Linked DNA regions of Homo sapiens: regions 1, 2 and 3 are each linked to region 4. The links are contacts of gene promoters, found by promoter capture Hi-C in blood cells and fetal thymus (Javierre and others, 2016). All regions are on one chromosome and are shown on one strand. The core of a region is centred on a gene start or on the middle of the fragment in contact, and the rest is flanking DNA. Distances in the headings are between cores, read along the strand shown. Region 1 overlaps RPF2 (ribosome production factor 2 homolog). Region 2 has its middle 15 kb from the start of SLC16A10. Region 3 has its middle 5.7 kb from the start of GTF3C6. Region 4 holds the start of TUBE1 (tubulin epsilon 1).

The links. The method cuts DNA at HindIII sites, captures the fragments that hold promoters and counts their contacts. A CHiCAGO score of 5 or more calls a contact.
Region 1: a fragment that was not itself captured here is called in contact with the fragment with the promoter of TUBE1 in region 4 in 5 of 17 cell types (total CD4 T cells, total CD8 T cells, naive CD4 T cells and 2 more); the score reaches 8.5 in total CD4 T cells.
Region 2: a contact is called between a fragment that was not itself captured here and the fragment with the promoter of TUBE1 in region 4, in 2 of 17 cell types (total CD4 T cells and non-activated CD4 T cells). The highest score is 5.3, in total CD4 T cells.
Region 3: a contact is called between a fragment that was not itself captured here and the fragment with the promoter of TUBE1 in region 4, in 2 of 17 cell types (naive CD4 T cells and naive CD8 T cells). The highest score is 6.2, in naive CD4 T cells.

What each region holds. Positions count from the first base shown.
Region 1 is chr6:110,984,469-110,987,880 of GRCh38, reverse strand. It overlaps RPF2 (ribosome production factor 2 homolog), which reads right to left. Exons shown (of 10, transcript NM_032194.3): 2 at 2,743-2,875. Among named protein-coding and RNA genes, the nearest start is that of RPF2, 4.1 kb to the right of the region's middle. The HindIII fragment of the contact is 1,341 bases long and covers 1,311-2,651 here.
Region 2 is chr6:111,071,042-111,074,626 of GRCh38, reverse strand. No RefSeq gene overlaps it. Among named protein-coding and RNA genes, the nearest start is that of SLC16A10, 15 kb to the left of the region's middle. The HindIII fragment of the contact is 151 bases long and covers 2,204-2,354 here.
Region 3 is chr6:110,951,257-110,954,829 of GRCh38, reverse strand. No RefSeq gene overlaps it. Among named protein-coding and RNA genes, the nearest start is that of GTF3C6, 5.7 kb to the left of the region's middle. The HindIII fragment of the contact is 4,472 bases long and covers 1-3,573 here.
Region 4 is chr6:112,085,642-112,088,906 of GRCh38, reverse strand. It overlaps TUBE1 (tubulin epsilon 1), which reads left to right and starts at 1,425. Exons shown (of 12, transcript NM_016262.5): 1 at 1,425-1,497; 2 at 1,601-1,674; 3 at 2,299-2,351. The coding sequence starts at 1,473. FAM229B (family with sequence similarity 229 member B) reads right to left here and starts at 1,316. Exons shown (of 4, transcript NM_001033564.3): 1 at 1,187-1,316. RefSeq lists enhancers at 1,256-1,445, 1,180-1,711, 1,846-1,895. The HindIII fragment of the contact is 2,028 bases long and covers 796-2,823 here.

The sequences.
Region 1 (3,412 bases), core at 732-3,231, 1.1 Mb after region 4:
TGGCCTATAATCATTTATTACTTGTATGGCCAGTACTGCTCTACCATAGAGAATAACAAAGATGTCATCAGGTACTACCTTGCATTAGAGAAATGGGTAAATGAGGGAAACAATGAAAAATAAGGTATAATAATCATTCATCAACTATCAGAGTTGGTGAACAAAGAAAATGCAACAGTAAAATCTACCTTTTTAAGTACTAAAACTTTTGATGATTCTTGGCCAACTATTTCCCTGTTTCCGTGTAATAAACATTGCCACCTCTTCTTGATGACTCAGAGTCATCATGATGAATTTTAATTATTGTAGTAATCTGTAATATTGTGCTGCTTTTAAAGCTTACTTAAATATGCAGGGTCATTGTGCTGATGGATACTAGAAGGAGAGGGGCAGTTTCCCGTTAGCACAATGAAATTCAGACAAACATTTCAAAAAAGGGATGGGCCTATATAAGGCATTCAGACATCTGAATTGACTATGCTTATCAGGCATAGAGTTTGGTCAAGTTTAAAATATATTCAAAGCCAGGCATGGTGGCTCACTCCTGTAATCTCAGCACTTTGGGAGGCCGAGGCGGACAGATCATGTCAGGTCAGGAGTTTGTGACCAGCCTGGCCAACATGGTGAAACCCTGTCTCTACTAAAAGAACACAGAAATTAGCTGGGTGTGGTGGCTCCCAGCTACTTGGGAGGCTAGAGGCAGGAGAATCGCCTGAACCCGGGAGTCAGAGGTTGCAGTAAGCCAAGATGGCACCACTGCACTTCAGCCTGGGCAACAGCGTGAGACTCCACCTCAATAACAACAACAAAAATGTATTCGATTACTTAATTGATTTAATTCAAAGATCTATTGGCTGTACTCAAGGCCTAATTAGTCAAATAACCTACTAGATATCTCCACATACTATGTCTTTTTTTTTTTTTTAGTTGGAGTCTTGCTCTGTTACCCAGGCTGGAGTAAGTGCAATGGCGTGGTCTCAGCTCACTCCAACCTCCATCTCCCAGGTCCAAGCAGATTTTCCGGCCTCAGCCTCCCTAGTAGCTGGGATTACAGGCGCCCACCACCATGGCTGGCTAATTTTTGCATTTTTAGTAGAGACAGGATTTCACCGTGTTAGCCAGGCTGGTCTCGAACTCCTGACCCCGTGATCCGCCCACCTCGGCCTCCCAAAGTGCTGGGATTACAGGTGTGAGCCACTGTGCCTGGCCCATACTATGCCTTTCTTTCATAGATTACATATATATTGAGTACCTACTATGTCCAGACACTGGGCTGTACACTAGGCTACAGAGGTAGAAAAAACAAAGCTTTTATTTTCATTACTTAAATTACATGTCCCAAACCGAACCTTTCACCTTTCCCTCCAAACCTGCTCCGCTTGATACATTTTCTAATTGGCATTATTGCCCATCAGGCACTCAAGCCAAACACCTGGGAAGTCATACTTTTCACTAGTTCCCAACTCTTCTTTCCTCAACATCTATTCTTTCTGGTCATTTCTCATTTTCATTGCCACCACTGGACTCCAGATGCTCTTCACCTAGCTGGCAGCAATGGCTTAGTTTCCTACATTTGCTCTCAACCCTCTCTAATCAAGCCAATTAAAAGGACTGATGGTATCTCTTGCTTAATATCTTTCAATGATTACACGGAGCTTTCAGATTAGAATTCAAATTTCATGTTACTATGTGACCCATGCCTCCTCTTCTAGCCTCATCTAGCCCACTCTCCTTTGGCCATGCCCAATTATTTACAGTTCTCCAAATGCATCAATGCTCCTTCATACTCCCTTTTGCACAAACTTCTTTCTCAGCCTCAGAGGATCTTCTCTTTCTCTCCCACTTCTTGCACCAACTTCTCCTTCAAAATGAAGCTGCAGTGTTATCTCTGGGGGAACCTACCCTGTGTGGGGGTCCCCCTATGTGATTTTTTTTTTTTTTTTTTGAAATGGAGTCTCTCTCTGTCACTCAGGCTGGAGCAGTGGCACAATCTCGACTGACTGTGACCTCCACCTCCCAGGTTCAGGCGATTCTCCTGCCTCAGCCTCCCGAGCAACTGGGACTACAGGCGCCCGCCACCACACCCGGCTAATTTTTGTACTTTTAGTAGAGACGGGGTTTCACCATGTTGGCCAGGCTGGTCTCGAACTTCTGACTTCGTGATCCTCCTGCCTCGGCCTCCCAAAGTGCTGGGATTACAGGCGTGAACCACCGTGCCTGGCCTCCCCTATGTGATTTTAACTGTTTCCCACCCTACCCTGTCCATGCCTCCAGCACAGCACAGTGTAAGAACTTTTTACATGTCTATCTCTCTAAGCTCACTGAAAGAACTGTGTCTCACCTATTAATTCCCAGCAGAGGCACAGTAACCGGTGTTGTTGAATGACTAAATATACAGCAATATGCAGTTACTTCTCTTTACAAATTAGATTTTTTCCTAAAATGTAAGTAAGCCAAATTCTAGTAATTGAAAACAGTTTAAATTTACTAAGGGAGACCTTCACTCTACCAGACCCACCTGTGCTCCTAAAAAACAATAATAAAATTTACTAAGAGAACTAGTTGCTTTAAGAAAAGGTGCCACGCAAGGTAAATAAACCCCCAACTTTAGCTCTTCTCTAAGACTAGTAGTTCTTATGGTAAGGCAAGCTTATCTACGTATTTCTCCGACAGCCCATCCTAGCATGCTGAAAATTCTAAAATGACTTCAATACCTTTTAAAGATTAAGTATATATACTTACCACATCTTTAAGTACTTTTGTCACTGTTGCATTTGCATTTCCCCCTTTAATCAGCATGGCATTTTTAATATTTTCATTGAGTTTCGGTTCTCTCTTCTCAAGGAATCTCTTGGCTCTTTTCGTTTTGGGCTTTCTGTTCAGAAAAGCACAATTCATAACTATTTAAACATTTTCCTCACATTGCAAAGCCATGACTTAACTAATATGAAAATTCTTAAAAACATATTTGTCACTTAGGGTTCCACCCTTAAAAAAAATCTCACTTTCTTTTTTTTGTTTGTTTTTTTTTGTTTGTTTTTGAGATGGAGTCTCACTCTGTCACCCAGGCTGGAGAGTGATGGCACAATCTTGGCTCACTGCAACATCCACCTCCTGAGTTCAAGCAATTCTCCTGCCTCAGCCTCCCGAGTAGCTAGAATTACAGGCACACACCACCACGCCTGGGTAATTTTTGTATTTTTAGCAGAGACAGGGTTTCGCCATGTTGGTCAGGCTATTCTCGAACTACTGACCTCAGGTGATCCGCTCACCTCGGCTCCCAAAGTGCTGGGATTACAGGTGCGAGCCACAAGGGCCGGCCAAAATCTCACTTTTTTGGTAGATATTAGTAAAAGATATTTCCTTATTATTGTTAAATAAGTGTTTTGATAGCTTTTAAAAAAAAGCTTTC
Region 2 (3,585 bases), core at 1,030-3,529, 1.0 Mb after region 4:
ATGTTACATACAGAATATACAGAAACTGTCATTGCCTGGTCCTGGTTATTTAAAGGAATCAGGAAAACAAATACAAAAACAAAATCAAGAATATCTTTTTGTTGGCTGTGTTTCCACAGGCCATATTTTTGAACATGAGGTAGAAGGCTGTAGATACATAAAAGAGAAGAAAATGGTTAGAGTAGACAGGCAAGTTGACTGCTAGCCATAAAAAAATGTAAGATTGGGAGGATTTTTTTTTCTCTCCCAGTAAGAAAAATATATATTGTTGCTCTAGGGAGTTTGATCTGTTTTTCCTTAGAATTCCACAACATTTCTCTCAATTCCCCTTTCTCCTTCCCACCTGTCTTCCTACCTCTTCCCCACCTACCCTCAAACAATAAGACTTAAGGCCAAGATATTGAACTTGAGATATGAAGTCTAGGACAGGAGCCAAAACCCCTACACTGGCAGATTAGAGCAGGATATCAGTTAGTGCTGGTGGAGATGCTGTGTCTTATCTCTCTTGGCTCTGACTCCAGCACAGTTCCTGCCTGGAACTTGAAAGGTGCTCCATATAAACATATAGAATAAATAAATGGCATATATAATGTAAGAACAAGCAGAAGACCTAAAGAATACCAACTCAAAATCTGGATTCCAGACTTCAGGGTCAGAATCAGGAAACCAAGAAGTACAATGAGAAGAGAGTACTGAGCTAGACTCAGAATACATAGATGGCCACAAGTCAGAATTAAGAATGGTGGAAAACATGCCATTTTAACATGCTAGCCAGGGAGAAACACAAAATAGGTTTCTCCTATTATATGACAATTGTACTTATATGACAAGTGACAACAAACTGGTTTAGCATCAGTAAAGAATTAAGAGTTTTCAGAGAAGTAAACTCAAGATGAACCTATGGCTACTCCAAAACCATGCAAAATTAAACTACATTATTACAAATATAACATCTAGAATTGTGCTGCCCAATGTGATCACCGCTGGCCATACGCAGCTATTTAAATTTAAAATAATTAAAGTAAAATTAGAAGTTCAGTTCTTCATTCTCATCAGCCGTATGTCAAATGCCCAATAACCACAGGTGGTTATGATTGGACAGCACAGATACAGAACATTTTCCTAATCACCGAAAGTTCTATTAGACAGCACTGGCGTAATGAGCAGTAACAGTGACCCTCTGCTCTGGTGTATTCAGTCAGCCCTGCACATCACTCTAAGTGAAGCAGGGACCAAAAAAATCAGAAGAGGGTAACCACAAAGCTAAAATTCATCATTTGTGAAATAGTTCAAAAGACTAGAGATATTAAGCCTGGAGCAGAGGAAAACTCAGTAGGGGATGTGAAGATTATCTTCAAATATTGGAGGACTAGCATGTGGATAAGGAAATGATATTGTTACAAGTGACATAAGGGATAGAATTAAACTCATGGATCAGACTTAGAAGGAAAAAGATTGCTATCTCAGCAGAAAGAAGAACTCCTTCTCCATCAGAGCTGTCCAAAGTCAGGGTAGACTGCCTCATAAAGGAGTGACCCGCCATCCTGGGGATCTCAGGCAAAGGCTGAGCATAGGCCTGACAAACAGGTAGGACAAAACAGACACAGACAGGGTGCAGTGGTTCACGCCTGTAATCCCAGTGCTTTGGGAGGCTGGGGCAGGAGGATCATTGAGCCCAGGAGTTAGAGGCTGCAGAGAGCTATGATTGTGCCACTGCACTCCAGCCTGGGCAACAGACCAAAACCCTGTTTCAAAAAAATAAAGTAAAAAGAAATAAAAAACAACTTTTGGAAAGAAGGAAATTATTTATTTATCAAATATGTCAGGCAGGAGGGGAGACTTCAAACGTGAATGGTTAGAATAATCTTTGAAACCCTTTCAAACTCTGAGAACTTCTGACGCCTCTGGTTGAGATTCAACCACTGGCTGAGAAATTCTGGAGGGTGAAGTAGGCAAAGGGTCTGGACTCTTGAACAAGATCAGGTGGAAACTCAAGAATATGACAGGTGAGAGAGAGCTCCAGAGCAAAAGAGGAGAAGAAAACAGTGATCAATTAAGTGGAAGTAAGTGGAGCAGAGGGACAGAAAAGGAGATATAAGAGGAGGGGGACATCTTGAGAAAGAGAAAGACTAAAAGACTTGGAGTGTGAAGGAAGAATGGAACAAGTGTGGGAGGTTTGTGACAAAAGGCACAAATAGAAGCTTCGATTTTGACTCTTCCCTGACTCAGACAGCTCTTCATGAGACAGTTTCTTAAATAAGAGTAGAAAAAATATGATGGGCTATGTAGCCAGAGAGCTTGATAAAGGGAGACAAAAACAGATGAATAAAATAAACACAACACATTACAAAGCTTTTGAAATACCAAAGTGGAAAATATTTGAACACCGCCACCCACAGAGACAAAAGGATTTCATCTCCTACTGCCCACATACCCTCCAGACGTCCAATAGTCTAATAAAAAATAATATATTAGAAATTTTTTAAAAGATCTTTTTTTTTTTTTTTTTTTAACAGACAAGGTCTCACTATGTTACCCAGGCTGGCTGCTCGAACTCCTGTGCTCAAGCAATCCTCCTGCCAAGGCCTCCCAAAGTACTGGGATTACAGGTGTGCCACTGCAGCGGCCATATTGGGAACTATTTTGAAATGAGGATTGTATTGGTTTCCTATTACTGCTATAACAAATCCCCACAATGTACTGGCTTAAAATAGCACAAATTGATTCTCTTACAGATTTGAAGGTCAGCAGTCTGAAGTCAGTCTTACCGGGCTAAAATTAAGATGTTAGCAGGGCTGGAGGCTCCAAGGGAGAATCTGTTCCTTGTCTCTTCCAATTTCTATTTATCATATAATGAAATATATTTAATTATTTTAATAAAAAATAGATCCTGGCCAGCACAGTGGCTCGTGACTGTAATCCCAGAACCTTGGGAGCCCACGGTGGGTGGTGGATCATTTGAGGCCAGGAATTCCAGACCAGCCTGGCCAACATGGTGAAACTCTGTCTCTACTAAAAATACAAAAATTCGCTGGGCGTGGTGGTGTGCACCTGTAATCTCAGCTACTCAGGAAGCTGAGGCAGGAGAATTGCTTGAACCCGGGAGACAGAGGTCGTAGTGAGCCAAGATCATGCCACTGCATTCCAGCCTGGGCCATAGAGCGAGACTCTGTCAAAAAAAAAAAAAAAAAAAAAAGAGAAAGAAAGACAGAAGAAAGAAGGAAGGAAAGGAGGGAAGGAGGGAGGAAGGAAGGAAAGGTCCTTACCATTTATGATGAGTTTAGCCTCAAAGAAATCTTTCTGTTGGGAAACCTAGATGTACTACTCAGTTTCTATAATAGTAGTGCATGTCTACACCACCTGATAGCTTTGAGCACTAATTGTAGTCATAAAGCATTTGTGAGATTTTAAGATTAAATTTTGACTCCTTTCCAACTCATTCTAAAATGTGGGGAGGACTGTTAAATCTTTCTGCACTGTGGTTTCTGGCCACATTTAAGTCTGGGCTTTCTTCCCTGACCTGGCACAAATCACAAATTAAGAGTGATATGGGCTTTTATAGTCAAACAACCTTTTAAAAGGTTA
Region 3 (3,573 bases), core at 306-2,805, 1.1 Mb after region 4:
CCAGGAGTTTGAGACCAGCCTGGGCAACATAGAGAGATCCCATCTCTATCTTTAAAGAGAGAGAGAGATTAGTGGTTGCCAGGGGCTTGGGAGGATGGTGGAATGAGGAGCGACTGCTACTGGATGAGGAGTTCCTTTTTTTTTTTTTTTTTTTAAGTAAAAGCAAGTTTATTAAGAAAGTAAAGGAGCCGGGTGTGGTGGCTCATGCCTGTAATCCCAGTACTTTGGGAGGCCGAGGCAGGTGGATCACCTGAGGTTAGGAGTTCGAGACCAGCTGGCCAACATGGCAAAACCCTGTCTCCACTAAAAATACAAAAATTAGCTGGGTGTGGTGGCGGGTGCCTGTAATCCCAGCTACTTGGGAGACTGAGGTGGGAGAATCGCTTGAACACAAGAGGCGGAGGTTGTGGTGAGCCAAGATCGTGCCCCTGCACTCCAGCCCGGGCGACAAGAGTGAAACTCCGTCTCAAAAAAAAGAAAGTAAAGGAATAAAGGAATGGCTACTCCATAGGCAGAGCAGCAGTTTGGGCTGCTCTACTGATAATACTTAATTAAGTTCATTTTTGATTATATGCTAAACAAGGGGTGGGTTATTTATGAGTTTTCCAGGAAAGGGGTGGGCAATTCGCAGAACTGAGGGTTCCTCCCCGACTTAGACCATATAGGGTAATTTCTGGACATTGCCATGGGATCTGTAAACTGTCATGGCGCTGGTGGGACTGTCTTTTAGCATGCTAATGCATTATAATTAGCATATAATGAACAATGAGGATGACCAGAGGTCACTCTCGTCACCATCTTGGTTTTGGTGGGTTTTGGCCAGCTTCTTTACTTCATCTTGTTTTATCCACAAGGTCTTTATGACCTGTATCTCGTGCTGACCTCCTATCTCATCCTGTGACTTAGAATGCCTAACCTCATGGGAATGCAGCCCAGTAGGTCTCAGTCTTATTTTACCCAGCCCCTATTAAAGATGGAGTTGCTCTAGTTCAAACGCCTCTGACATATTCCCCCACCCTTTTACAAGGGAACCCTTAATCCTAAGGGTTGTAGAGGGATGAAGATCCATTTTCTGTCACTTTTTCAGGATGAATAGGGGCAATTATATTCCTGCCTAACTATGAGGGGCTCTTGTATTCAGAGTAGAGAGGAGCTTAGTCAGAAAGCATCAGTATGGTGAGGGCCACTCATAACTCTTGAGTTCTGACAAAAGGTGATATAGTTTCCAAATTCTAGAGAAAACAGGTAGAGAGAGACTAATATGCTCCAAAGTTTGTTCACAGGAATATACTTTACTCAATTTTTAAAAGCTATAAATAGCTCAAAGGAAAAGTTTTCTTGATTCCAAAGTCAGCCAATTGTGGTGCTTCGGTCTATTTCCTTTGGGTTGGGAGTCTCCTCAGTTTAGTTGCTTCATGGTTTGCCAGGAAGATGTTACTGGAAAGGGGTCCTGATCCAGACCCCAAGAGAGGGTTGTTGGACCTCACACAAGAAAGAAGTTGGGGAGAGTCCATTGAGAAAAGTGAAAGCAAGTTTATTAAGAAAGTAAAGGAATAAAGAAGGGCTACTCCATAGGCAGAGCAGCCAGGAGTTTCTTTTTGGGTGATGAAAATGTTCTGAAATTAATGGCAATGGTTGCACAGTTCTGTTAATGTACCAAAAAAAAAAAAAAAAACCAACTGTATATTTTTAAAGGGTGATTTTTATGGTATATGAATTATATCTTGATAAAGCTGTTTTTTTCCTTTTGTTTTTTGTTTAAAAAAAGAATAGAAACACTTTTAAACTGAACAGAGCAGAGGAAATTTGCTTGGGGCGATCAAGGAAAAATCTTTGAAAGCTAGATAAGGGCTAGAACCATGGTGGCTGCATAGAAATATAATTTGGCTCTGGATCCAAAAAAGATGGCTTAAGGACCCATGGCTGAGAGGAAGAAAAGTTGGAAAGGGTCAAGTGTTATTAGTTTGCTTTAACTGAACCCACTTTAAGCCTTGTCTACTGAAACTAAGGCTGCTGAGGCAGAAATAATTTGAAAAACATTTATTGGAAGCCAAATGTGAGGATTGAACTGGGAAGACACACCAACCAGAGTTAGGAGTGTTCTGGAGTCTGTTACAAGTTACTGGAACAGGCTTTTAAAAGGACGGCCTTTTTTAGGAGAAGGGAGGAGAAGGAGAGGGAGGGAAGGAGAAGGGAGGAGTACTCCTTATACCAAAGTTATTGGAGCGTACAGACAGTACAGAAGTTACAGTCATTGGCTACAGATTGCAACATGCAGGATAAAATGTCTGTGTGCAAGACAATCAGTAAAACTTCATGATCAGAAGTCAGTGTCCTTTCCATTGTCAGTAAGTTATGCATTAATCAGTATGTCAACAATTTGAAGAGCGCACAGATTCTTTACTCAGGGATAGGATGTTGCCATGAGTCACAAGACCTCCCCAAGGCAAGTTAATTTGGAAGCCAGTTTACTTTAAAAGTAAACTACCAAGTGTGACATATAGGTTATCAGCCTCATGATAGTCTCAAAAGATAACTATTATCAAGAATGACATTTAATGAATTATCAAGATTATTTAACAATTAACTAGCAGGGCACAACGACTCAGCCATGCTGGGGTAGGGTCCTGGGAAAGTTGGATCATGGGGAGGCCTGGAGTGAGCTAAAGGCTTGCGGTGGTTGCTTGTTACTGGCTGATACGGGAAAAATGTCTCTAATTTAACAACTGGTATGTTTTTAATCAGTGCATACAAGCTAAATATCAGCCCTCATTAGTCTAACTTCCATTTTACACTTTGGGAAACTGACACTTAGAAAATTAGGAAACTTGGCCGGGAGCGATGGCTCACACTTGTAATTCCAGCACTTTGGGAGGCCGAGGCGGGTGGATCACAAGGTCAAGAGATCGAGACCTTCCTGGCCAACATGGTGAAACCCCATCTCTACTAAAAATACAAAAATTAGGCTGGGCACGGTGGCTCACGCCTGTAATCCCAGCACTTTGGGAGGCTGAGGCGGGCAGATCATGAGGTCAGGAGATCAAGACCATCCTGGCTAACATGGTGAAACCCTGTCTCTACTAAAAATATAAAAAATTAGCCGGGCATGGTGGTGGATGCCTGTAGTCCCAGCTGAGGCAGGAGAATGGCATGAACCCGGGAGGCGGAGCTTGTAGTGAGCCGAGATCGTGCCACTGCACTCCAGCCTGGGTGACAGAGCAAGACTCCATCTCAAAAAAAAAAAAAAAAAAAAGCAAAAATTAGCTGGGCGTTGTGGCATGCGCCTGTAGTCCCAGCCGGGAGGCTGAGGCAGGAGAATCACTTGAACCCAGGAGGCGGAGGTTGCAGTGAGCCAAGATCATGCCACTGCAGTCCAGCCTGGCGACAGAGCGAGATTCCGTCTCAAAAAAGAAAGAAAGAAAATTAGGAAACTTATCTGACTTACTACACTCTATTGTCTTTTCTGGGAAAGCAGGTAGAGATGCCAACCTCTGCATCAGGCTAGTTAAGAGTCAACAGAATGAGATTGAGCATCCAGCCTTAATAGAGTTGAAGAGGAGTTAAAGAGCTAGG
Region 4 (3,265 bases), core at 176-2,675:
ATAATGACTGGGACTGCATGAAGGGTAGGGCTCTGCAAAGGCCAGTGTATCATCTCACCTAGCACTGATAACACACTGATACAGACCTATTCACATCACTGCCTACAAACTGGACCAAGACTTGCAAATTTTGGAAGCCCCAGACGTTGGGACTTTAGCATCAAGACCTAAAATGCCCAACTTTACCTCTACCACTGACCCCATACTCAGTAAGAAGTTAAGAATAAATCCAGCCTACAAAAATTTACTGACCGAAAGCTGCCTATTACCAAAAGATATAAAATCCATTGCAACTTTAAACCTACCGGCTACCAGAGAAATTTAATAGTAACTACTACGTGTCTTGGTGGGACAATAAAGTGTTCTAATCCATTGAATATTACAGTTCATATTAGCACATATTCATAGCACATACCATATAACTTTTTATTAAACAAAGAAGACTTCTTAGAGTTTCGTAGTTCTTCAGAATTTTTGTGGAAAATATTAATTTCATTAAAGAAGTACTTGAGTTCTTAATTAAAATCTGGTCTAATTTGATCAATAGAAGTTTACATATTTTAATGTTTGACAATTTTAAGTAGTTGGTAATTGTCATAATGCCTAACTTTTTAATCTTCTCCTGCCTATCCCATCTAAATACCCATCTAAATGCCTAGTGTTAATCTCGTGTCTTCTATCAGACTTCTACATACTCATCTACATCCTCAACCACTGAATCCTATTGCACTTATAGTCAACGCCACACAATTCTTTAAGTATTTCGCGTGTATGTCTTCAATTAGATTGTAAGCTTCTTGGAACTGGATCTATGCCTTAATTTCTTTCTAATCTTCCCAGCGAGCCTACAAGTTAATTTGGGGAGTATACAGCGTTCAACAAATACTGGTTGGGTCTGTGACCTTAGCTTTGCCATTTTTGTCAAAGCGTATAACCATCTAGTTTCAATTGTGCCCTGACATGACTATTTCTCTGGGGTTTCTCTTTGCTCAACGCCATTGTTCATTTTCTATTAGAATAAAGGGCTTGTTGAACAGAGATGCCAACGCAGCGTCCCGTGGAATCTGAATAAACGGACTGATCCACCGCCCCGGGTGTTGAGGCTGTGAACAAAAATTAAACCTCTGATAGCCCACGAACAGCTTAACGACACATATTTTAAAATACCACTCCAAAGCCTAGTTACCTGCCAGTTACCCCGGCCTCCGGAGCTGCCGATGCTCGAAGATGTTGACAAGGCAGCTAGGATATACAGTCCAGAAGCCCAGTCGCTACGGTAACGGTGACACGCAAGTGCACTTGCGCGGCCTTCTGACGGAAAACCTTAGCCTGAACCTACAGACGTGCTTAGCGACGGCAGAGGCTTGCGGCAGTAGCGTGACTTACGGCAGCTCTCTAGCAGAGCGCCGTTGCTGGGGGAATGCAGAAGCGGCCGCGGGCTAGCAAGCTCCCGGAGCCGGCGGCGCACCACCATGACCCAGTCGGTGGTCGTACAGGGTAAGCTACGCCGGGCGGGTAGAGACCTGGTCGCCGCGGAATCCAGCGGCCATGTTTCCTGCTTAATGTCCTATTCTCTTTCCTTCCTCTCCTCCGGTCGCAGTCGGCCAGTGCGGAAACCAGATCGGCTGCTGCTTCTGGGACCTGGCACTAAGGGAGCACGCCGCGGTCAACCAGGTACCCGCCCGCCGCCGCGAGCCCCCTCGCCTGTCAGCTAGGTCTTCCAGCCCATACGCAGGAAATAATCGACTTGAGCTTTCATCTGACCCGTTTAAGATGCATGGGATCTTCCCAGTAAAGAACGTACTGGTTTTTAAACATGTTGCGTCAGACACACACTAAACTAAAAGAACACTGGCCAGCGACCTTAGTCTTAACGTTTTTCCTGATTCTCAGGGTCTCCTCTTTATTGGTGTTCGTGTGCAGAACAGTGAGATTTGTATATGGGAAAGTACTTTGTAAAATAGATAACACGTGTGGTTATTGTATTCCTTAATTTAACCAGTCAGCTTTTAAAAAGATTACGAAGAATCCAGAGAACGCTCATTTGATGGACCTGTCCTACAGTCCTATGGGTGAAATCCTTTCTTTAGCACCCCCTGCTGAACTTTTTATCTGTAGATCTGGCATTTACTCTTCTAAGGAGATTGGGAAGAGTCAGGCTCCGCATTTTGTGATACTTGGTTTTTCTTATCAGAGTCTCATCCTAGCCATTACAGTATTATGTAATTAAAATTGAAAGAACTTGATTTGGGCGAGAAGCAAAACCTAAATGCTATTAACATATGTTTTTCTTTTTAGAAAGGAATTTATGATGAGGCAATAAGCAGCTTCTTTAGAAATGTGGACACCAGGTAAGATGGGATTAAAGTCTGTCACAGTGTGATACTTTAAGTTTCAGTAGCTTGGGAGAGAATTCTTCAAAGGACAATAAAAATAGCCAGCTGCGAAGTTGTGTTTTTTTGTTTCATTATTGAAAGCATATTTATTCTATTAGATTATTAATATTCTTATATCATTTTCCCGAAGAAGACAACAGATTTCCCTTTAGTGTGACTTCTTTTAACTTAACCTTGAAATAAGTTTCATTAAAAGAAAGCTGAAATTTTCCCAGAGGGCATCTTGTTAATGCATCCTGTAATAACTAACTTTTGAAAGAAAAATATATTGTTTACATATATGCTGTAAGTATAAAAATATACTTAAAAAGGTGACAAGCAGTTGTTGGATTGTTTTTGTTTATTTAATAAAGAGTATATGTAAGTACCATATATGTTTTATCTGGAAGAGTAATTTAAGTTGCCGTTTAGGATATCTCCATAAGCTTTTAATATTAAATCATTAAGTTCATGCATTTTCAAAATACTTCATAAAACTAACTGTCCTGTGCTTAAACTGAAAAATACATACTTCGTGTCAGGCTTTAATCCAATAGGAACATCAGTTCTAGTTTAAAATAGTTGGCTGGGTGTGTGAGCAGTTATCTTCAGAGAAAGCTGATTAGTCCGCGCTTCCTGGGTGAATTCCAGAGTCTATCTAGGGCACTGGCTTGCAAACTCAGAAGTGTCATTGGCATCTCGAGATGGGTTCAGTGCTCTCCAGTACAGCCAGGTTAACCAAAGACCAAATTCTCATTTTCATAGGCACATTACTTTATCTTTTGTAGGAAATCTAACTGAAAAGCTGTGTAATAATCTGAAGGTTGCTTGGTGACCATGGAATCAGACCAAAGGAAGTTAGTTACTTTAATGGCTGGTATCATTTATAT